5 separate regions of the Homo sapiens genome follow, and all the other regions are linked to region 2. The links are contacts of gene promoters, found by promoter capture Hi-C in blood cells and fetal thymus (Javierre and others, 2016). All regions are on one chromosome and are shown on one strand. Each heading gives the region's core, a stretch centred on a gene start or on the middle of the fragment in contact. The rest is flanking DNA. Distances are from core to core; before and after follow the strand shown. Region 1 overlaps TDRD12 (tudor domain containing 12). Region 2 holds the start of CEP89 (centrosomal protein 89). Region 3 overlaps TDRD12 (tudor domain containing 12). Region 4 overlaps TDRD12 (tudor domain containing 12). Region 5 overlaps TDRD12 (tudor domain containing 12).

Region 1 (4,449 bases), core at 1,350-3,849, 240 kb after region 2:
CCCAAGTAGCTGGGATTACAGGTGCCTGCCGCCATGCCTGGCTAATTTTTGTATTTTAGTAGAGATGGGGTTTCACCATGTTGGATAAGCTGGTCTCAAACTCCTTACCTCATGATCCGCCCGCCTCAGCCTCCCAAAGTGCTGGGATTACAGGCGTGAGCCATCACGCCTGGCCAACAGAAAGGTTTTTTAAGGTCAGTGTTAACATTTCATCAAAGAACAAGAGAGGTAAAAGGTACTCTCAAAACCATCCCAGTCAACATTCTCCTTTACAGCAGAGGAAAGAGATGCCAGGAGGCCGGGCCTACCCAAGCTGAGCCACTCTGCCCATAAGAAAACCTCAGGAACACAGGCCGTCTGAGTACTAGGTCACTGTTTTTCTTACTACAATTGTTTCCACTCCTTAACTGAGGACAATTTTTAGAAAGTAAAATAAGAAAAATGCATTCATTTACCTTCTTAAATCAGGAAATAATGCTTAGGAATGATTGTCAATCATGTGTCTGACCAACAGGAAGCTGCCACCAGGCTCATCCTTCCACTCCCTTACCCATGACTCTTTATTTTTTTTGAGACGGAGTTTTGCTCTTGTTGCCCAGGCTGGAGTGCGATGGTGCGACCTTGGCTCACTGCAACCTCCACCTCCCGGGCTCAAGCGATTCTCCTGTCTCAGCCTCCCAAGTAGCTGGGATTACAGGCGCATGCCACCAGGCCCAGATAATTTTAAGAAATTTTTTTAGTAGAGACAGGATTTCATCATATTGGTCAGGATGGCCTCGAACTCCTGACCTCAGGTGATCCACCCGCCTCGGCCTCCCAAACTGCTGGGATTACAGGCGTGAGCCACCGCACCCAGCCTCCCCATGACTCTTATTGGCCTCTGACATTTGTTTACTATCTGTCATAACTGGACGCTGGCTCCTTGATGACATGGATTTTTGTCTGTTTTGTTTACTGCCAAATTCCCAGCACCTAGCAGTGCCTGGCATATACTAAGTCTTCAAAAACTACTTGAACCAGGCATGGTGGTACGTGCCTGTAGTCTCACCTACTTAGGAGGCTGAGGTGGGAGGATCGCTTGAACCCAGGAATTGGAGGCTGCAGTGGGCTATGATTGCACCACTGCACTCCAGCCTGGGTGACACAGTGAGACCCTGTCTCAAAAAAATAACAGTAATAAAATGTTTTAAAAATAAACTACCTGGGCCAGGCATGGTGGTTCACGCCTGTGGTCCCAGCACTTTGGGAGGTCGAGGTGAGTGGATCACCTGAGCTCAGGAGTTCAAGAGCAGCCTGACCAACATGGAAAAACCCCGTCTCTACTAAAAACACAAAAATCAGCCAGGGATGGTGGCATGTGCCTGTAGTCCCAGCTACTCAGGAGGCTGAGGCAGGAGGATCACTTGAGCCAGGGAGGCAGAGGTTGCAGTGAGCCAAAGATCGCGCCACTACACTCCAGCCTGGGCGACAGAATGAGAGTTTGTCTCAATCAATCAATAAACTGCCTGTTTGATGGCTGAATAAGTGCACAGTCCCTGACTTATGATGGTTTAACTTACAATTTTCAACATTATGATGGTGTGAAACTATTGCAATTTTTACATAATGTGCAGTATTCAATAAAATACATAAATATTTAAACTTTACTACAAAATAGGCTTTGTATTAGGTGATCTTGCCCAACCATAAGCTAATGTTAAGTGTCCTGAGCAAATTTAAGTAGGCTAGGGTAAGCTAGGCTGGTCAGCAGGTTAGGTGTACTAAGCCCATTTTTTACCTACAATTATCAGGACATAACCTCATCGTAAGTTAAGAAGCATCTGTAAATGCCTGCAGCCCCTTTTAAGGAGAACCACCCTGCAGAGGTGACAACCCTTGGCATCCTGACTGTACCACAGGACTGCCAGGCCACAGCCAACTCAACTAATAAACCGTATGCTAACCACAGGTTTATAAAGCAGTCCAGCAGGAGAGCTGCGCTCAGACAGAAAGGAAGGGGACTGATAGAGATTGCTGTCCTTGGGAATAAGTTGGAAAATACAGTACAGCCATACTGCAAGGCACAGGTTCTAGAGAACCTCACATAACTCAAAACTCGAATAATTCAACAGAAATCCTGACAAAGGATGAAGGGTATTTCTATTTAATGCTGAAGTCAAAGCATCTTGTAGAAATACCATGAATAGTTAATAATTCACACAGCCAGCCAACCTTCAAAATGAGGCATGAAAGCCACATTCATCTCATATATCTCCATGAGAGCTCTTCAGTGACCAGGTGCACTGTCAATGAGCACTAATTGTTTGTTGTTTTTTGTTTTAGAGACAGGGTCTCATCACTACATTGCCTAGGCTGGACTCAAACTCCTGGGCCCAAGTGATCTTCCTGCTTCAGCCTCCCAAGTAGCTGGGACTGTGGACACGTGCCACCATACCCAGCTCAGCAGTAATATTTTGAAAGGAATCTTTTTTTCTGAGCATAGATCTCAACAGTAAGCTTAAAATATTCAGTAAGCCATGCGTGAACAGATGTGCTGTCATTCAGGCTTTCTTGTTCCATTCGTAGAGCAGATAGAGTAGAGCTAGCATAATCTTTAAGGGTCACAGGACTTTTGGAATGGTAAATGAGTACTGGCTTCAACTTAAAAGTCACCAGCTGCATTAGCCCCTAAAAAGAAAGCCACTCTGACCTTTAAAGCTTTAGTCCTTTAAAGACACCGACTTCTCCTATTTATTTTTTAAGATGGAGTCTCTCTCTGTCACCCAGGCTGGAGTGCAGTGGTGCCATCTCAGCTCACTGCAGCCTCCACCTCCCGGGTTCAAGCAATTCTCCTGCCTCAGCCTCCCCAGTAGCTGGGATTACAGGTGTCCGCCACCACACCTGGCTAATTTTTGTATTTTTAGTAGAGACAGGGTTTCACCATGTTGGCCAGGCTGGTCTCGAACTCCTGACCTTAGGTGATCCACCCACCTCAGCCTCCCAGAGTGCTGGGATTACAGGTGTGAGCCACCACACCTGGCTGACTTCTCCTATTTAGCTCTGGAAGTCCTAGAAGACATCTTCTCCAATAGAAGGCTGTCTTGTATACATTGAAAACCTCTTATTTAGTGTGTCCACTTTCAACAATGATCATAGCTACATCTGGAGAAACTGCTGCAGCCTCTCCATCAGCCCTTGTGCTTCACCTTGCACTTTATGTTGTGGAGATGGCCTCTTTTCTTAAACCTCATGAACCAACCTCCGCTAGCTTCACATTTTTTCCCTGCAGCTTCCTAACCTTGCTCAGCCTTTATACAATTGAAGAGAGTTAGGGCCTTGCTCTGGATCAGGCTTTGGCTGAAGGGAATGTAGTAACTGGTTCTAAGCCTCTATCCTGACCAATAAAACTTTCTCCATATTACCAATAAGGCTGCTTCTTTTTTCATTTTTTTTTTCATTTGTGTGTTCTCCAGAGTGGCACTTTTAATTTCCTTCAAGAACTTTTCCTTTGCATTCACAACTTTGCTAACTGTTTGGTGCAAGAGGCCTAGCTTTCAGCCTATCTCAGCTTTCAAAATGTCTTCCTCTAAGTTCAATCATTTCTAGCTTTTAATTTAATGTGATTCATCCTTTCACTTGAACACTTAGGGGCCATTGTAGGGTTATTAATTGGCCTAATTTCAATTGTGTGTCAGTGAACAGGAAGGCCTGGGGAGAGGGAGAGAGATGGTGGAGCAGTCAGAACACACATTTATTGATAAAATTCACTATCTTACATGGGTGCAATTCGTGGCACCCCAAAACAATTAAAATACTAACCTCAAAGATCACTGGCCACAGATCACTATAACAGATAGAATAATAACAAAAAAGTTCGAAACACTGGGAGAATTACCAAGATGTGACACAGAGACATGAAGTGAGGACCTGCTGTGGGAAAAATGGTGCCTATAGTCTTGCTCCATGAAGGGTTGCCATAAACCTTCAATTTGTAAAAAAACATAGTTACTGCGAATTCACAATAAAATGAGGTCTGTTTGTACTTAAAAGTGTAAAGGGCCAGGCGCAGTGATTCATGCCTGTAATCCCAGCGTTTTGGGAGGCCAAGGCGGGCAGATCTCTTGAGCCCAGGAGTTCGTGACCAGCCTGGGCAACATGGCGAAACCCTGTCACCACAAAAAATACAAAAAAATTAGCCAGGTGTGGTGGTGCATGCCTTTAGTCCTAGCCACTTGGGAGGCTGAGGTGGGAGGATTGCTCGATACCAAAAGGCGGAGGTTGCAGTGAGCCGAGATAGAGTCACTGCACTCCAGCCTGGGTGACAGAGTGAGACCCCCATCTTCAAAAAAAAAAAAGAAAAGAAAAGAAAAGGAGGAGGAGGAGAGAAAAACAAAACCACCCTCTCGACACCAAAAATGTGATAACTAGGCACAAAGCACTAAGTTGAAAACTGATCCACACAATTTCTCT
Region 2 (4,554 bases), core at 1,486-3,985:
CCTGCCTCAGCCTCCGGAGTAGCTGGGATTACATGCACCCACCACCACGCCCAGCTAATTTTTGTATTTTTAGTAGAGACAGGGTTTTGCCATGTTGGCCAGGCTGGTCTCGAACTGCTGGCCTCAAGTGATCCTCCCGCCTCCGCCTCCCAAAGTGCTGGGATTACAAGCATGAGCCATCACGCCTGGCCTCTAGGTTGACGTTTTCACCAGCGAAAGGGCAGGATAATGACTGATGGAGCCATCACACCCTGAGAATCTAAAATCAGGTCTCCAACTTGTATACTTTGTGATACACTTGCCTGGAGTGTGTGACAAGCTGAGCTGGCTGCAGAGGCAGCTTCCGCATTTAAATTCCTCGAAGAGATTTTATAAACCAAGTCAGAGAATGACATAGATTGGATTGATGGTTGCTTCTGGAGAGCAGCTGAGTGTCCATGAGGACAGGACTACCACGAAGGTGTAGGAATCGGTACTCACCAACTGGATGACGAGGCAGGATGCTTCCATCTGGCTGGCCACTGGAAGCAGCACCATTCCAAGGTCCAGCACAGTAAACTTCTGTAGGGCTGGGAAGTATTGTTCACTCATCCGGGTTTTTTCAACGACTACAATTCCTTTAAGATTATTGGACTTGAAAGGAAAAAAGACAGTAAGTCATTTTGCAACCAAATTGCTTTTCAGGTTAAGAATGCTATCACTTCGTGCCTGACCTGGCCAATGATTTTAAATAAATGATACCAAGGGATGGAGGGAAGGGTGGGGTGAGACAAATCAATGTTCGAGTTTCTTTAATCCAATGCTTACATTTCTTTTTTGTTTTTGTTTTTTGTTTTTTGAGTTGGAATCTCACTCTGTCGCCCAGGCTGGAGTGCAGTGGCGTGATCTCGGCTCACTACAGCCTCTGCCTCCCAGGCTCAAGCAATTCTCCCGTCTCAGCCTCCCTAGTAGCTGGGATTACAGGCGTGCGCCACCATACTCAGCTAATTTTTGTATTTTTAGCAGAGACAGGGTTTCACCATGTTGGCCAGGCTGGTCTCCAACTACTGACCTCAGGTGATCCACCCGCCTTGGCCTCCCAAAGTGCTGGGATTACTGGCGTGAGCCACAGCACCCAGCCTAATACTTACATTTCTAACCCGAACAAGCCTCTTTCTGTAGCCATTTCCTGCCACCAAATCAGCTTCGGTGACATAAAGAATGCAGCATCTGTTCGACAGATAAAAGTCTGGTGTCAAGCCATCCTCGAAAATGAGCTTAATTTTCCCTTAAAATACAGAGAAGAAAATGAGTTCCATAAGCTTTGGATGAAAAGATGGCAATAATAGGCAGATTTTTTTTTTTTAATATGTCAGGGGAGGAAAGGGCTGGCAGAGGGCAGGCCACCGACCTTGCATCTCCTGCGCCAGCTGTGACCCGCGCCATTTCTCATTGGCCACAATATGCCCCAAAGGCACGTGCACGGGGCCCGTATCATCAGGGGGGTTCTTTTCCATGGATGGTCTCCACCTAAGGAGGGAAAAGCCAGGCGGCACTTGAGCAGGCTCTCCTGCACACGGCCCTGCATTCCACTCCAAGCCAGGGCCTCTGGGGCAGGATCCCCTCTGCAAACTGAATTATTTGTCAAAGAACTGTCAAATAAGATTCCCTTTATAATTACTAATAAGAAAACACAGGCTGGGCGCGGTGGCTCACACCTGTAATCCCAGCACTTTGGGAGGCCGAGCGAGGCGGGTGGATCACAAGGTCAGGAGTTCAAGACCAGCCTGGCCAAGATAGTGAAACCGCGTCTCTACTAAAAATACAAAAAAATTAGCCGGGCTTGGTGGTGGGCACCTGTAATCCCAGCCACTTGGGAGGCTGAGGCAGAGAATTGCTTGAATCCGGAAGGCGGAGGTTGCAGTGAGCCGAGATCGCGCCACTGCACTCCAGCCTGGGCGACAGAGCAAGACTCGTCTCAAAAAAAAAAAAAAAAAAGAAAAGAAAAAGAAAACACAAAGGCCTGAATGAAGGCCAGGGTGGCTGGAGACGGGATGTGTGGTGGTGGAGGTGGTAATGGCATTGGATTCCAATAAGGCCAGAGGCACGATCAGATTTAAGTTTTAAAAGAATCCTGGGCTGGGCATGGTAGCTCACGTCTGTAATCCCAACATTGGGCAAGGCTGAGGCGTGAGGATCGCTTGTGCCCAGGAGTTCGAGACCAGCCTGAGCAATACAGCGAGATCCCGTTTGCCAATTATTTGTGGCGAAATAAATTCTCTAAGAACCAGGAGATTCCTGTCCTGGTGTCCGCGTCCTTCATTTTCATCACGTGCCTAGCCCCTGATACCCCAGCTGGATCCGCACCGTAGCTTCTCAGTCCAGTCCAAGGCCCGAATACAGCCGGCAGGAACCCCACCGTCCCAGTCTAGAGATCATGTTACTGGTGGCCGCGCCACCTTCCGGGTTCACGCCCTCGGTGCTCGCCCAGTCCTTCATCCAGCCCGCCCTCCGCCTCCCGCAGCGCCGGATAGGCTGTGGCGTCAGAAATGGACGTCTAACCTGACCAATAAGAGAACGGATAAGGGCGGACGTTTCCGCCCTGGCGGGGATTTGAACGGTACCCACTGGTTGCCAAGAACGACCGGTGTGGAAGTAACCTTAGCTCTGATTGGTCGAGGGCCGAGCTGAGCCAATGGCCGACGTGGTTGCTGCAAAGTCCATTGCGAAGAGAAAGCGTGAGGGCTGGGCCTGCGGCGGGCTTTAGGGAGTGGTCCCTGGCTGTGGATAGATCTGCTGATGAGTCCAGGCCCCGGTCCATTCTCCTCGCGCTGCAAGGATGCTCCTGGGATTTCGGAGAGGCCGCAGGAGTCATTTCGTAAGTAGATGCTCGCCCGCCGCGCGTGGGGCTCTGTGGGGCCGGGAATTAGGGGTAAAGTGTTGGGGCGGGTTGGGGTTTGGCCTGAGATCCAGTCAAGGGGGCGGCACAAGAGAAAGTGGTTTTCAGTTGAGGAAGCCTTGATTTTTCGTGTTCTAAACTTTTTTTTTTTTTTTTAAGAAACAGGGTCTCGCTCTGTCGCCCAGGCTAGAGTGCAGTGGTGCGATCATAGCTCACTGCATCCTCGAACTCCTGGGCTCAAGCGATCTTCCCACCCCAGCCTCCCGAGGAGCTGAGACTACAGGCGCGCGCCACTACTCCCGGCTAATTGTTCAATATTTTTGTGGAAACAGGGATCTTGCTATGTTCCTATGGTGGTCTTGAGCTCCTTAGCCTCCTAAAGTGTTGGTATCACAGGCGTGAGCCACTGTGCCCGGCGTTAACAATCTTCTGCCCCAGGGTCGGCCACAGTTGGACAGGAGCACCCTGCCTCCCCTGTAGCATTCGTCCCCGTGCCCGGAGTTAACTCCTGGACGACGTACACCTGCTGCACTGCTGGATATAGCCATTCTTCATTTTTCCCTCCTCCACCCACCATGTACACCCCATCAGCAAGTCCCATCCGATATACCCACTACATACATCTGCCAGCTGTTCCCATCTCCACCCACACCCCGGCCTCCAGCATCTGTCTGGACTGCTGCGGCAGATCCTCACTGGTTTCTCTGCTTCCACTCTCGCCCTTCCCCTAGGTCCATTCTCCACGTAGCAGCCAAGGGGATTCTTATATTTATTTATTATTTAATTTAGTTTTAGAGACAGGGTCTTGTCCTGATGCCCAGGCTGGAGTACAGTGGCATGATCATAGCTCACTGTGGCTTCAACCTCTTGGGTTCAAGTGATCCTCCTGCCTCAGGCTCCTGAGTAGCTGGGACTACAGGTGTGCACCACCACACCTAGGTATTTTTTATTTATTTTATTTTTTGCCTCACACTCTGCCAAGTCTCAATGCCTGGCTAATTTTAAAAATTATTTTGTAGAGGCCACGTGAGGTGGCTCTCACCTGTAATCCAGCACTTTGGGAGGCTGAGGCAGGCGGATCATTTGAGGTCAGGAGTTCAAGATTAGCCTGGCCAACATGGTGAAAACCCATCTCTACTAAAAATACAAAAATTAGCGGGCGTGGTGGTGGGCACCTGTAATCCCAGCTACACGGGAGGTTGAGGTGGGATAATCGCTTAAACCCGAGAGGCAGAGGTTGCAGTGAGCCAAGATTGTGCCACTGCACTCCAGCCTGGGCGACAAAGCTAGACTCTGCCTCAAAAAAACATAATTTTTTTTTTTTGGTAGAGATGGGGTCTGGGTATGCTGCCCAGGCTGGTCTTAAACCTTGGCTCAAGCAATCCTCTCACCTTGGCCTCCAGAGTGTTGGGATTACAGGTGTGAGCCACTGCATCTGGCTTGAGTTTTTATTTAAAGCCCCAAACATTAATGAGTCCCTGCTGTGTGCTGATACCCACAACTGACAGCTTATGGCCACACGGTCTGTAGGATAGACAAGCCCATAAATAATTCTGTACACAATGGTAAAACAAGAACTGCTGTTGATGTGTGTACCAGAAGGGCAGTGACGTCAGCCTGGAGAGTTGGCCTGGGCCTGGCAGGGAGTAAGGAAAGAATTCTGGGTGCAGAAGACA
Region 3 (4,058 bases), core at 441-2,940, 190 kb after region 2:
TGGGCCCCGCCACTTCCTCTGCTACCCAAGTATCCAGGATTCCCAAGGGGATCCTGGTGGTATGTGATCCTGGAATGGGAAAGACTGCATCTGGGGTGACCTCTTCCAGAATGTACTGTAACTTGGGGGTTTCCAAATGAGTTATATGAAGGAACAGGCCCGAGGAGAAAGAAATACAACCGCTTACTGGTACTTACAGGCTTGAGCAACTCCATCAGCGAGACAAAAAGACAGGAAAAGAAAACCACAGGTGTCACACAGAGGAGGCTAGTGGGACACCTGGCCCCTGGCAATGAGCCAAGGTCCCTGTGCCCCTCTGCCCACATTGTGACAGTCGTTATCATAGTCCCAAGTGAGGTTTGGGGATGCGGCAATGCGGGTCTCTGACTGGCCATCCTTAAGGAAAGGGTGCCTCTCCTCCAGGCTGCCTTGGCTATCTCGCCAGAAATGACAGCACAGGGTTCCCCAGGCTTTGGACGCAGTGCAGCCAATGCTGGACCTCTGCGCAGTCAAGGGGGAGGGTCCCAGGATCACCAGGTCATCCCTGTGTCCCTAAGGAACTCAAAGCCTTCTTTGATGTTTAATCCTGAATTACCTCAAAGTTCCCTGAAACCCACAGGAGACTGACAGGATAACTGATGTTGTTTAATCAGTGGGTTCTAAGTAAAGGGCATTTTAACAGAACAGGAGACAAGACAGAACTTTTTAATACGAAAATAAAAGGGAATAGAATGTTCCAGGGTCATCCGGGCACAGTGGCTCACTCCTGTAATCCTAGCACTTTGGGAAGCCAAGGTGGGCGGATCACCTGAGGTCATGAGTTCGAGACCAGCCTGGCCAACATGGCAAAACCCCATCTCTACTAAAAATACAAAAATTAGCTGGACGTGGTGGCAGGCGCCTGTAATTCCAGCTACTCAGGAGGCTGAGGCAGGAGAATTGCTTGAACCCAGGAGGTGGAGGTTGCAGTGAGCCAAGATCATGTCATTGCACTCTATCCTGGGTGACAGAGCAAGATTCCGTCTCCAATTAAAAAATAAATAAATAAATAATGAAAAAAAGAATATTCCAGGGTTAATTTGCCAGGTTATAATTGAAAATAATAAAAGAAAGAAATAAGCTGTATGGCCTTCTGTTCCAAGGAAAATAACGACTGTGACAGCAAAACCTTTGGGTATTAGGGCTGAGGTTGCCCTGGGAGGGGGGTGTCAGTTAGGTGCATCAACAGCCATCCCCAACTCTGTGGGCTCGTGGAAGCTTTCAAAGCCTCACCCTTGAAATCCTGGGTGGTGTCCTGTGGGGTAAGAAGCCCTGGCAGGTCATCAGCATGGCCTCTGGGAAGCTGGGAAGCCCACATGGCTGCAGAGTCCACACCCTGGCTCCAACCCCCAAGGCCAACCAGTGGAAACAGCAGGACCTCCCCACCTCTGACCTGTCTCACACTTTGTCACTCTGGGAGCTCCAGGGCAGCTACAGTTACTTGGAATGTAAAACTGTTGAGGCCAATATGGTAAAAAGTATAAAAATGGCATGAGGCTGGAAGCTGTGGTCATGCCTGCAATCCCAGCACTCTGAAAGGCAGAGGTAGGAGAATCATTTGAGGCCAGGACTTTGAGACCAGCCTGGGTAACATAGCGAGACCCTCGTCCTACAAAAAAAAAAAAAAAAAAAAAAAAAAAAAAAAAATATATATATATATATATATATATATATATATATATATATATATATGTAAATCAGTTATGGTGGTGCATGCCTATGGTCCCAGCTACTTGGGAGGCTGAGGTGGGAGGATCGCTTGAGCCTAGGAGGTCGAAGCTGCAGTGAGCTGTGACTGCACCACTGCACTCCAGCCTAAATGACAGAGGAAGACCTTGTCTCAAAACGAAAATTGCTATGTAAATATTTTACAGATTACACAAGTATGAAATCAAGGCAAACTGCTCAGTTTCTCTAGCAGTGTTGCCTCAGAGAACTGGAAAGAAAGCAAAGACCAACCCAAAGAACATCAACAGCCCCAAAAGATCAACTGTATCTAATTTGATTTGTGACACTGTTCACTTCACCAAGAGAATCCAGAAGGCAAGGTAGAAAATGACTACTTACACTGGAACAAAGCTTTAAACAGAAAAATGTGCCCAAGTGGATGGAAAAGCAAAAATTAACCTCAAACCCTACAGGAGATATACTGTACATTTATTTTTTGATGGGAATGCAGGTTTGAAATTAATAATAAAATGTGTAGATTTCTCTTGTTTATAATTTTATTATAATTATTTCAATACACAATTCAGGCCAAGGAAAAAATTCTTACTTCACACAGCTATTCTTCTCATCATATTCTTTCTTCTCAGTCAATCTAAGAGGTTTCTCATTTGACTTCTGACTTAAAGCACTAGAAATGAAAAAAAAAAATTCATTAAAATTTGTGAACAGCAGCCTGGGCAACACAGTGAGTCCCCATCTCGACAAAAATAAAAAAATAAAAAATGCCGGGCATGGTGGTGTGCACCTATAGTCCCAGCAACTCGGGAGGCCAAGGTGGGAGGATCGCCTAAGCTCAAGAGTTGGACACTGCAGTGAGCTGTGATTGTGCCACCGCACTCCAGCCTGGGCAACAAGAGCAAGACCCTGTCTCTTAAAAAAATGAAAAATTGTGAACCCCTTTACCCCAATCCTGAAAATATCTTTATTTTCTGGATTAAAAATTTAAGAAGCACCACTGAGGAATTGGTTTATCTACATAAGCACATTTCTGTGAGAACTGGAGCTTAGTCCTTTAAGTATAAAAGTCATTTCTGACACTTCTGGTGGTGGTGCTGGACAGGATGGAGTAGGCCTGCCACAGCCTCTCTCTCCTGCTGATCACAACTAGAGATTCTGGATGAGGCCCCAACAGCAGGGGAGAGAAGTCAAACACTTGAAAAACAGAATCACCAGGACTTTCTTGTCTTTTTTCTCTCTGTGTCTCTGTGTTGACCTCAAGATGACTTTGTGGCAGGTGCAGACGCCAGAATCTCCAGGAGAGACTTCTTCCTTCAAGCCAGAGAAGCGGGAAGAGGCGCCCTTTAAACCAGAAAGTGTGGGGAATCCCCATTGTTTTTCTTTTCTTTCCTCACCGGGCCCCAAGGCCAGCTCTGATCTTGGGGCTGCACCCAGCAACAGCAACAGCAGTGTGGTGACCTTAAACCCTGAGAGAAAACCTGCACCTGAAGCCAGAGGAACTGGGAGATGGGAGCTGTGGTCCAAAGACTGCGTGAGGAAAATCTCCACCTTTTTTCTCCCTTACTTGTTTTATTCTCAAGGTATCCCAATTCCACATTACTGCACACCAATGTCTCCAAGAGAAACTATCTGGCCAGAGGAATACGGGGAAGGAGGCCCTAGAAATTGGTAACTGTGAGGGAAATTCTGAAAAGAAAGAGAGGTGGTTCATGACCCAACACAAGCCCCAACTCGCCCCAAGCTAAGCAGATGCAGAACAGGCCCCAGGCAGCATCGAGGGCCCAGAGCCTGAGCTCACACGGCCACCGCCACCCACAGTTCGCAAGGCAGAACATGAGGGCCGGACCTCATGGAGGTACCGACCTCCTGCTAAGACAAATGACACCAACCAACACTCTCTAGAGAATGTTAACAGAAACCAGAATCTCGCAACATAACATTCAAAATATCCAGAGTGAGTCCAAAGTTACTCAGCACACACGGGCCCAGGAAAACCAGATCGACTGCCAAGGGAAACGACAATCAGCAGGTGCCAACCTCTGGTGGCTCAGGGTGGCAATCTCTGGACACTCACTCCACAAGAAGAAAAGGCCAGCACTCCCAAGTGGAAACACACAAGTTCTCAGCAAAGAAATATAAACTTTTGAAAAAAAAAAACAAGGAAAATTTTAGAAACAAGAAATATAGGCCGGGCACAGTGGCTCACACCTGTAATCCTAATATTTTGGTAAGCCAAGGCGGGAGGATCACTTGGTCTCAGGAGTTGGAGACCAGCCAGGGCAACATAGCGAGACTTCCATCTCTGCAAAAAAATTAAAATGTTAGCCAGCTGT
Region 4 (4,109 bases), core at 774-3,273, 210 kb after region 2:
ATACAGTAACATACTGTACAGGTTTGTGGCCTAGGAGCCATAGGCTATACCATATTGCCTATATGTGTAGTAGGCTGCACCATGTAGGTTGGGTAAGTACACCCTATGATGTTTGCACACCAAAATCACCTAATGACGTGTTTCTCAGAACATAGTCCATCAGTAAGCAACACATGACTGTATATAAATAATCACTTTAAACCCAATGGTCCTGTGAAAGTTAATTATACAAACTAGGTCATTCTTTCATCTCCAACTAAATCAGAGTCGAGGGGCCAGAGGAAAAGTACTCGAGGCACAGAGCACCTTCTTGGCCCCGCTGTTGAGGTGCACTGCTAGAATCCCAACACCAGTTTTACCTGGTAGCTACTGAAATAACCTGCCATGACTTTAAGACTAGTTTTTCCTACCGCCATTACCTACCAATCAGAGCTTGCCAGCTCCCAAAAACTTCTCTAGCGTCAATGAGCTTCCTTTCAAAACAATATGTAAGATTTCTCTAATAAAACTCCCAACCTTCTCTTTTCAACAAATGGTGCTGGAACAACTCAACATCCACATGCAGAAAAGTGACTCTAGGCACAGACCTTACACCCTTCACAAAAATCAACTCAAATGGATCTAAATGAAAAATGCAAAATACAAAACTCCTAGAAAATAACATAGGAGAAAACCTAGATGACCCTGAGTATGGCAATGGCTTTTTAGAGACAACACCAAAGGCACAATCCATGAAAGAAGCAACTGATCAGCTGGACTTCATTAAAACTAAACATTTCTGCTCTGTGAAAGATATTGTCAAGAGAATGAGAGACAAGCCACACACTAGGAGGAAATGTTTGCAAAGGACACATGTAAAAAAAGGATTGTTATCCAAAATGTACAAAGGACTCCTAAAACTCAACACTAAGAGGACAAAAAAGTCAATTTAAAATAGCCAAATCCTTGCCGGACATGGTGGGTGGCTCATGCCTGTAATCCCCGCACTTTGGGAGGCCGAGGCAGTCGGATCATTTGAGGTGGGTGGATCACTTGAGCTCATGAGTTCAAGACCAGCCTGGCCAACATGGTGAAACCCCGTCTCTACTAAAAATACAAAAATTAGCCAGGCATGGTGGCGGGCACCTGTAATCCCAGCTACTCGCGGGGCTCAGGCAGGAGGCTTGAACCTGGGAGGCAGAGGTTGCCATGAGCTGAGATCACACCACTGCACTCCAGCCTAGGTGACAGCACAAGACTCCATCTCTAAATAAATAAATAAATAAATAAGGAACTCCTGAAGAGATATCTCATCTGAGAAGATATACCAACAGCAAATAAGCATATGAAAAGATGCTCACATCCTACGTCATTAGAGAAATGCAAATTAAAATAATGATATTCCACTACACCCCTATTAGAATGACCAAAATCCAGAACACATTCTACAAAATAATAGGTCTGTAATCTTCCAAAGTGCAAGGTCATGAAAATCAAGGAGACCCAGGAAATGTTCCAGAGGAAAGACTAAAGAAATGTGTTCTCGGCCAGGCGCAGTAGCTCATGCCTGTAATCCCAGCACTTTGGGAGGCCGAGGCGGGCGGATCACGAGGTCAGGAGATCGAGACCATCCTGGCTAACACGGTGAAACCCCGTCTCTACTAAAAATACAAAAAATAAAAAAATAAAAAATTAGCTGGGCTTGGTGGCGGGCGCCTGTAGTCCCAGCTACTTGGGAGGCTGAGGCAGGAGAATAGTGTGAACCTGGGAGGTGGAGCTTGCAGTGAGCTGAGATGTGCCACTGCACTCCAGCCTGGGAGACAGAGTGAGACTCCGTCTCAAAAACTAAACAAAACAAAAACAAGAAACGTCTTCTCTAAATGCAACAAGTGATGCTGAACGACGTCTCTTTGATAACCAGCAAAACCTGAATGGTGCCTGGGAGTTATATGATCACAATATATCAGTGTTAATCTTCACACTCTGATGATTGCATTGTGGATATTTTTGAGAATGTCCTTCTTTCTAGGAAAAACTCAAGTATTGGGGAATCAGGTTAGCAACTTATTCTCAAATGGTTTGGGAAAAAAGTTCTTTGTAATACTCTCCAACTTTTCTGTAAGTTTGTGATTATTGTAAAATAAAAAATTTATTGAGAAGATGGATGTAAACTCTATGGAAGCACAGACTTTGTTTCCCTCCTAAGAATCCCTAGAAAAGCACCTGACAGTGAGGGCGTCATAAATATCTGATGAATGAATGAATGTGGGTTAGGGGCACGAGAGTGAATCTCCCTAGAAATCAAGACAATGTCTAAAGTGAAGAAGCCTAGTAATAGTAAAATATACACAATTATTTTAAAATCTGGAGATAATACCAAAATAAACAACTTTAAAAAGTGAGTTTATCTCTAGGGGACATCCTGGGGTAAGAAGAGGTTGCAAATAAAAAAATTATTTTTCACTGTAGCCCTTCTGTAATATGTGATTGTTTAATCAAGTATTAGCAAATCAAGTATTAGCCAAGTATTATACTTTGATTCTCAAAAATATTAGGCAACTTCAAAGAGAAACACCAAAAACTAACTGAAATATAACTGAAGTACCTTCTCACAATAATTAAAGGAAAGGGAAATCTATACTTAGAAAAGTAACATCTAATAATTCTGCTTTTTACATGCCAATTCAGTTACACCTCACATTATCTTTTTTGTTATTGTTCACCATAACCTTTTCCTTTTCAAAGATAAGCATAGTTCATTCCAGTACTGATTGTAATAAGCAGGAAACAATTTCTGCCCAGCAAGCTGGGACTCCTGAAAATAATTTTGACATATCAAGCAATGGAAAGCCACGCAATAATTAAACACGATGATGTAGTGCCTGGTATTTTTATTCCTCCAATGGAAAAAGAATATAAATGGAAAGAATACATGCCCATCAACAACAGGTGCTACCTTCTGCTGTAATTCTCACCTGGGGACCCCCTACAAGAGGCATATCAGAATCTGGGGCAGGGGCCACATGCGCTGAGGCTGCCACAGGCCAGGCGCTGAGCCAAGCACGCTGCACGATGGCCCATTCAGTAACTCCCAGGGGGATGGGGATGACATCCCATGTCCCAGAGAAGGAAGCGGCCTGACACCCTGGCAGTCTCACATCAGAGTTTATGTCCTTAAACACATTATACCGGATATATTTGACCTAGAAAGGGAATTCAGCCATATACTAAGTAAAATACATTACAAAGAGGTATGTATAGTAGGACCCCATTTCTGTGAAATAAAAATTTTATAAATACCGTCTGGAAAACTTTGGAAAGAAAGGCTCTATAATATTTTATTTTATTGTGTTTATTTTTCAGCCGGAGTCTCACTCGCCCAGGCTGGAGTGCAGTGGCACAATCTTGGTTCACTGAAACCTCTGCCTCCTGGGTTCAAGTGATTCTCCTGCCGCAGCCTCCTTTGAGGCCAGGAGGTTGAGGCTGCAGTGAGCTGTGATCACACTACTGCAATCAAGCCTGGGCAACCGAGCAAGACCCCGTCTCAAAAAAAAAAAAAATTCCCAGACTGAGACATGCTAGAACTCCAGGGGCCTTCTAGTCTACCCCTACCTCCCCTCCGTGTACATATGGGCAGTTGCAGGCTCTTGGAAGGTCGAGGCTCCCACCAAGCCAGTGGTAGACCCAGGATTAGAACACATGTCTCCTGGCTTCTAGCCCCGAGCCTGTTCTCTCTACACTGTGTTGCCACCCTTACCTTCAATGCAAAAGAGTCTACAGGGTTCACTCCTCCTTTTTACATCCTAGTTTCTCATTTCATCATGCAGCAAATAAGTTCTTGAGTAGCTGGGACTACAGGCACACGCCACCATGCCTGGCTAATTTTTGTATTTTTAGTAGAGACGGGGTTTCACCATGTTGGCCAGGCTGGTCTCAAACTCCTGATCTCAGGTGATCCACCTGTGTCGGTCTCCCAAAGTGCTAGGATTACAGGCATGAGCCACCGTGCCCAGCCTACAATTTTATTTTATTTTGTTTTCTGAGACAGAGTCTCACTCTGTCATCCAGGCTGGAGTGCAATGACATAATCTTGGCTCACTGCAACCTCCACCTCCCAGTTCAAGCAATTC
Region 5 (3,967 bases), core at 363-2,862, 180 kb after region 2:
ACCCAGGCAGTCTGGCTCCACATCCCCTGCACAGATCCTAAGCACAAGAATGAACTAAATGCCTCCTGAAAGGGGCCTTAAAAAAGACGAACCCTGGCTGGGTGTAGTGGCTCACGCCTGTAATCCTAGCACTTTGGGAGGCTGAGTCAGGTGGATCACCCGAGGTCAGGAGTGTGAGACCAGCCTGACCAATATGGTGAAACCCCATCTCTACTAAAAATACAAAAATTAGCCAGGCGTGGTAGTGTGTGCCTGTAGTCCCAGCTACTCAGGAGGCTGAGACAGGAGAATTGCTTGAACCCGGGAGGCAGAGGTTGCAGTGAGCCGAGATGGAGCCACTGCACTCCAGCCTGGGTGACAGAGCGAGACTCCATCTCAAAAAAAAAAAAAAAAAGACGAACCTCTCTTCCTTAGGACACTATCTTCTGAACCCTGCCCTCTGCAAGCCGACAGGTAACTCCTGAAGCTGCACTGCCTGCCAGACACACACCCTCCAGTAACTGAAGACAAGCTGAGGCTCCTCTTTCATTCATACAGATCCAGGTGGGCCCAGCTTCCAGACACAGGCCTGAAAGCAGGCTGACCATGGAGGCGTGGAGAAAGCTGGGGGCCACAGGGACGAGACCTGGACATCCCCTTCTGCCCTGAGCCTGGGTTCGGCCTCAATATAAGCGACTTCTCATCAGTTGCTTCTCATTAGTCTGCTGCTAAGTAATTTGGGAGATAGAAACATATCCATTAATTTGACTAAATCAGCTGCTAATAACAGATGCAACTTTTTTTTTTTTTTGAGATGGAGTTTGGCTCTTCTTGCCCAGGCTGGAGTGCAATGGTGCGATCTTGCCTCACCGCAACCTCCGCCTCCCAGGTTCAAGCGATTCTCCTGCCTCAGCCTCTCGAGTAGCTGGAACTACAGGCGTGTGCCACCACGCCCAGCTAATTTTTGTATTTTTAGTAGAGACAGGGTTTCACCATGTTGGCCAGGATAGTCTCGATCTCGATCTCGTGATCCGCCTGCCTCGGCGTCCCAAAGTGCTGGATTACAGGCATGAGCCACTGCGCCCGGCCAACAGATGCAACTTTCTAAAGGGAAATCATAAAACTGCATGGCACGGTTAGAAAAATGAGCTAGTATTTTTCCTAACTGCAACCCTATGTCTTCTTACTGCTGTTTTTCACTGGTGGAGCCCCGTCTGGAGCACCCTCAGTGCCAGGCCCCGAGATGCAGGTTCCACACCCATCAGGCCCCTAACAGCCACAAACCAGCAGCACAGGGCCATGCCCTGCATCATTTACCTTCACACCGCTCCTCTCTTTCCCACCACCTCTTTCTCAGTGAAATGGTTTAGCTCTGCATCCCCACCCAAATCTCATGTTAAATGTAATCCCCAGTGTTGGAGGTGGGGGCTGGTGGGGGGTGATTGGCTCATGGGGGCAGTTTCTCATGAATGGGTTAGCACTGTCCTCTTGGTGCTGTTCTTCTGAGATCTAGTGTTTAAAGGTATGTGGCACCTCCCCTGCTCCTGCTCCTGCTCCAGCCATGTGTCACACTTGCTCCCCCTTAGACTTCTGCAATGATTGTGAGTTTCCTGAGGCTTCCGCAGAAGCCGAGCAGATGCCAGCATCATGCTTCCGCTCCAGCCTGCAGAACCATGAGCCAGTTAAGCCTCTCTTCTTTATAAATTACCCAGCCTCAGGTATTTATAGCAATGCTAGAACAGACTTAATACAGTTATTCTGAGGTTTTCCCACATGGGAAAAGTTAAGAAGGATTATGAAGCAGGGTGGGGAGCTAGGAAATGACTGGCAGAGCACGGGACAAGGCAGCAGAAGCTCAGACTTCAACCCCACTCCTAGCCCTGTCAGTGGGAAATTTACCCCAGTAACTCTTCCTGAGCCTCATTTTCTCCTCCGTGAAATGGTCAGAACAATGCCCATCTCATGCTGCTACTGTGATGGATAGATAGACTCAGGTCTGTGACAGCATTTTACACACTCGATATCCATTTTTTCTTTTTCTTTCTTTTTTTTTTTTTTTTTCTGAGATGGAGTTTTGCTCTTATTGTCCAGGCTGGAACACAATGGTATAATCTCGGCTCACTGCAACCTTCGCCTCCCAGGTTCAAGTGATTCTCCTGCCTCAGCCTCCCAAGTAGCTGGGATTACAGGCATGCCACCATGCCCACCTAATTTTTCTGTTTTTAGTAGAGACAGGGTTTCACCATGTTGGCCAGGCTGGTCTCGAACTCCTGACCTCAGATGATCCACTCGCCTCGGCCTCCCAAAGTGCTGGGATTACAGGCGTGAGCCACCGTGCCTGGCCTCCATATCCATTTCTAAAAGCCTCAGCCAATGGCCCACAACTATAGGCTCCAGGTGAGAATCAGTATGAGAGCATCAGTAATTGGAATGGGAAAGGACACTTTCCCACAGGACAGTTTCTGGCCTGGAAGTTTGAAAACCAAACTGAGTAATAGACGACCTTCCTCAAAGGTGAGGTGTATAATTTTAAAATAAATATTTAACCCATTTGGTTGTGAGGCAAAACTGTCTTTGACTTACTCCATTTCTACTTGGTAATGACTTGTAGCAGGCTCCTGTTTGCAAAACTGTCAACACTGGTAGGAGGTAGAGCAAAGGGTTGCTTTCACAGTGAGAAATGACAACCACATCACAGCCACGCGCTATGGGAGGCCAAGAGTAAGATTCAGTGTGGCTGGGGCCCGGAAACTTATTTCTTTGAAGAGCCTACAAAACAGAAACAACCAGAAACCAAAATAAGGTAGAGAAAACTAACAAAAACTCCATTGCATGGCTCATTTCACCCCAAAAAGCACTACACATTGCCAAACCCAGTATTTTCCAAGCCCTAACTTGTTAAGTTTCCCCAAATCTTTTCTCAGTACCAACCTCCTATTAAAAGACTGTTGCTTTTTCTCCTATTAAGACTCCCATTAAAAGATTCTTGCTAGGCAGGGCACGGTGGCTCATGCCTGTAATCCCAGCACTTTGGGAGGCCGAGGTGGGTGGATCACCTGAGGTCAGGAGTCCGAGACCAGCCTGGCCAACATGGTGAAACCCCATCTCTACCAAAAATACAAAATTAGCCAGGTGTGGTGGTGCATGCCTATAATCCCAGCTACTCTGGAGGCTGCGGCAGGAGAATCACTTGAACACAGGAGGCAGAGGATGCGGTAAGCCAAGACTGTGCCACTGCACTCCAGCCTGGGTGACAGAGCGAGACTCCATCTCAAAAAAAAAAAAAAAAAAAAAAAAAAAAAAAGCCAGGCACAGTGGCTCATGTCTGTAATCCCTGCACTTTAGGAGGTCAAGGCGAGCAGATCACCTGAGGTCGGGAGTTCAAGACCAGCCTGACCAAGATGCAGAAACCCCGTCTCTACTAAAAATAGAAAATTAGCCGGGCGTGGTGTCAGGCACCTGTAATCCTAGCTACATAGGAGGCTGAGGCAGGAGAATGACTTGAACCCGGGAGGCACAGGTTGTGGTGAGCCGAGATCATGCCATTGCACTCCAGCCTGGGCAACAAGAGCAAAACTCCGACTCAAAAAAAAAAAAAAAAAAGATTCTTGCTTTAATTTTCTAAATTAAAAGGATCCAATAGATGGCCCATTGACAGGAACTTAAAGTTCACTGGATCAAAGATGTGGCTTTTCCTCCTCATTCTCCTAATAAACTGCCAGTCCATCAGCTTCACTTGTAAAGCTTTTTAAAAGATAGACTTTTATTTGCTTATTTTTCTATGTAACTGTCACTAAAACCCAAATGTTCCAATAGAGTTCTCCACCCACATGGATAGGATCTTCCAAATGGCCGAGCTCATCGGCACCATGAGCTCTGTGAGGTCCTCTCGAGTCCTGAGCCCTAGCTGCAGTCAGGACCCGCCATGCTCTGCACTTGGTATTGAGCAACTATCCTGGTATCATCCTTCACCATCACCTTTTGTCTG

What was found. Contacts are between HindIII fragments. The CHiCAGO score rates a contact against its expected background, and 5 or more counts as called.
Region 1: a contact is called between a fragment that was not itself captured here and the fragment with the promoter of CEP89 in region 2, in 1 of 17 cell types (naive CD8 T cells). The highest score is 6.7, in naive CD8 T cells.
Region 3: a fragment that was not itself captured here is called in contact with the fragment with the promoter of CEP89 in region 2 in 1 of 17 cell types (non-activated CD4 T cells); the score reaches 5.1 in non-activated CD4 T cells.
Region 4: a contact is called between a fragment that was not itself captured here and the fragment with the promoter of CEP89 in region 2, in 1 of 17 cell types (naive CD4 T cells). The highest score is 5.0, in naive CD4 T cells.
Region 5: a fragment that was not itself captured here is called in contact with the fragment with the promoter of CEP89 in region 2 in 1 of 17 cell types (naive CD4 T cells); the score reaches 5.1 in naive CD4 T cells.

Annotation. Positions count from the first base shown.
Region 1 is chr19:32,734,260-32,738,708 of GRCh38, reverse strand. All of the region lies in intron 2 of TDRD12 (tudor domain containing 12), which reads right to left. Among named protein-coding and RNA genes, the nearest start is that of TDRD12, 17 kb to the right of the region's middle. The HindIII fragment of the contact is 201 bases long and covers 2,499-2,699 here.
Region 2 is chr19:32,970,139-32,974,692 of GRCh38, reverse strand. It overlaps CEP89 (centrosomal protein 89), which reads left to right and starts at 2,735. Exons shown (of 19, transcript NM_032816.5): 1 at 2,735-2,857. The coding sequence starts at 2,819. It overlaps FAAP24 (FA core complex associated protein 24), which reads right to left and starts at 2,451. Exons shown (of 5, transcript NM_152266.5): 1 at 2,347-2,451; 2 at 1,391-1,509; 3 at 1,131-1,267; 4 at 481-633. The coding sequence starts at 1,496. RefSeq lists enhancers at 2,278-2,327, 2,708-2,927 and a silencer at 2,468-2,597. The HindIII fragment of the contact is 6,189 bases long and covers 1,304-4,554 here.
Region 3 is chr19:32,775,486-32,779,543 of GRCh38, reverse strand. TDRD12 (tudor domain containing 12) reads right to left here. Exons shown (of 33, transcript NM_001366102.1): 11 at 2,315-2,395. Among named protein-coding and RNA genes, the nearest start is that of TDRD12, 58 kb to the right of the region's middle. RefSeq lists enhancers at 1-159, 1,949-1,998. The HindIII fragment of the contact is 861 bases long and covers 1,260-2,120 here.
Region 4 is chr19:32,758,845-32,762,953 of GRCh38, reverse strand. The region is part of intron 8 of TDRD12 (tudor domain containing 12); the gene reads right to left. Among named protein-coding and RNA genes, the nearest start is that of TDRD12, 41 kb to the right of the region's middle. The HindIII fragment of the contact is 6,121 bases long and covers 1-4,109 here.
Region 5 is chr19:32,793,409-32,797,375 of GRCh38, reverse strand. TDRD12 (tudor domain containing 12) reads right to left here. Exons shown (of 33, transcript NM_001366102.1): 14 at 2,563-2,748. Among named protein-coding and RNA genes, the nearest start is that of SLC7A9, 74 kb to the left of the region's middle. The HindIII fragment of the contact is 4,226 bases long and covers 1-3,725 here.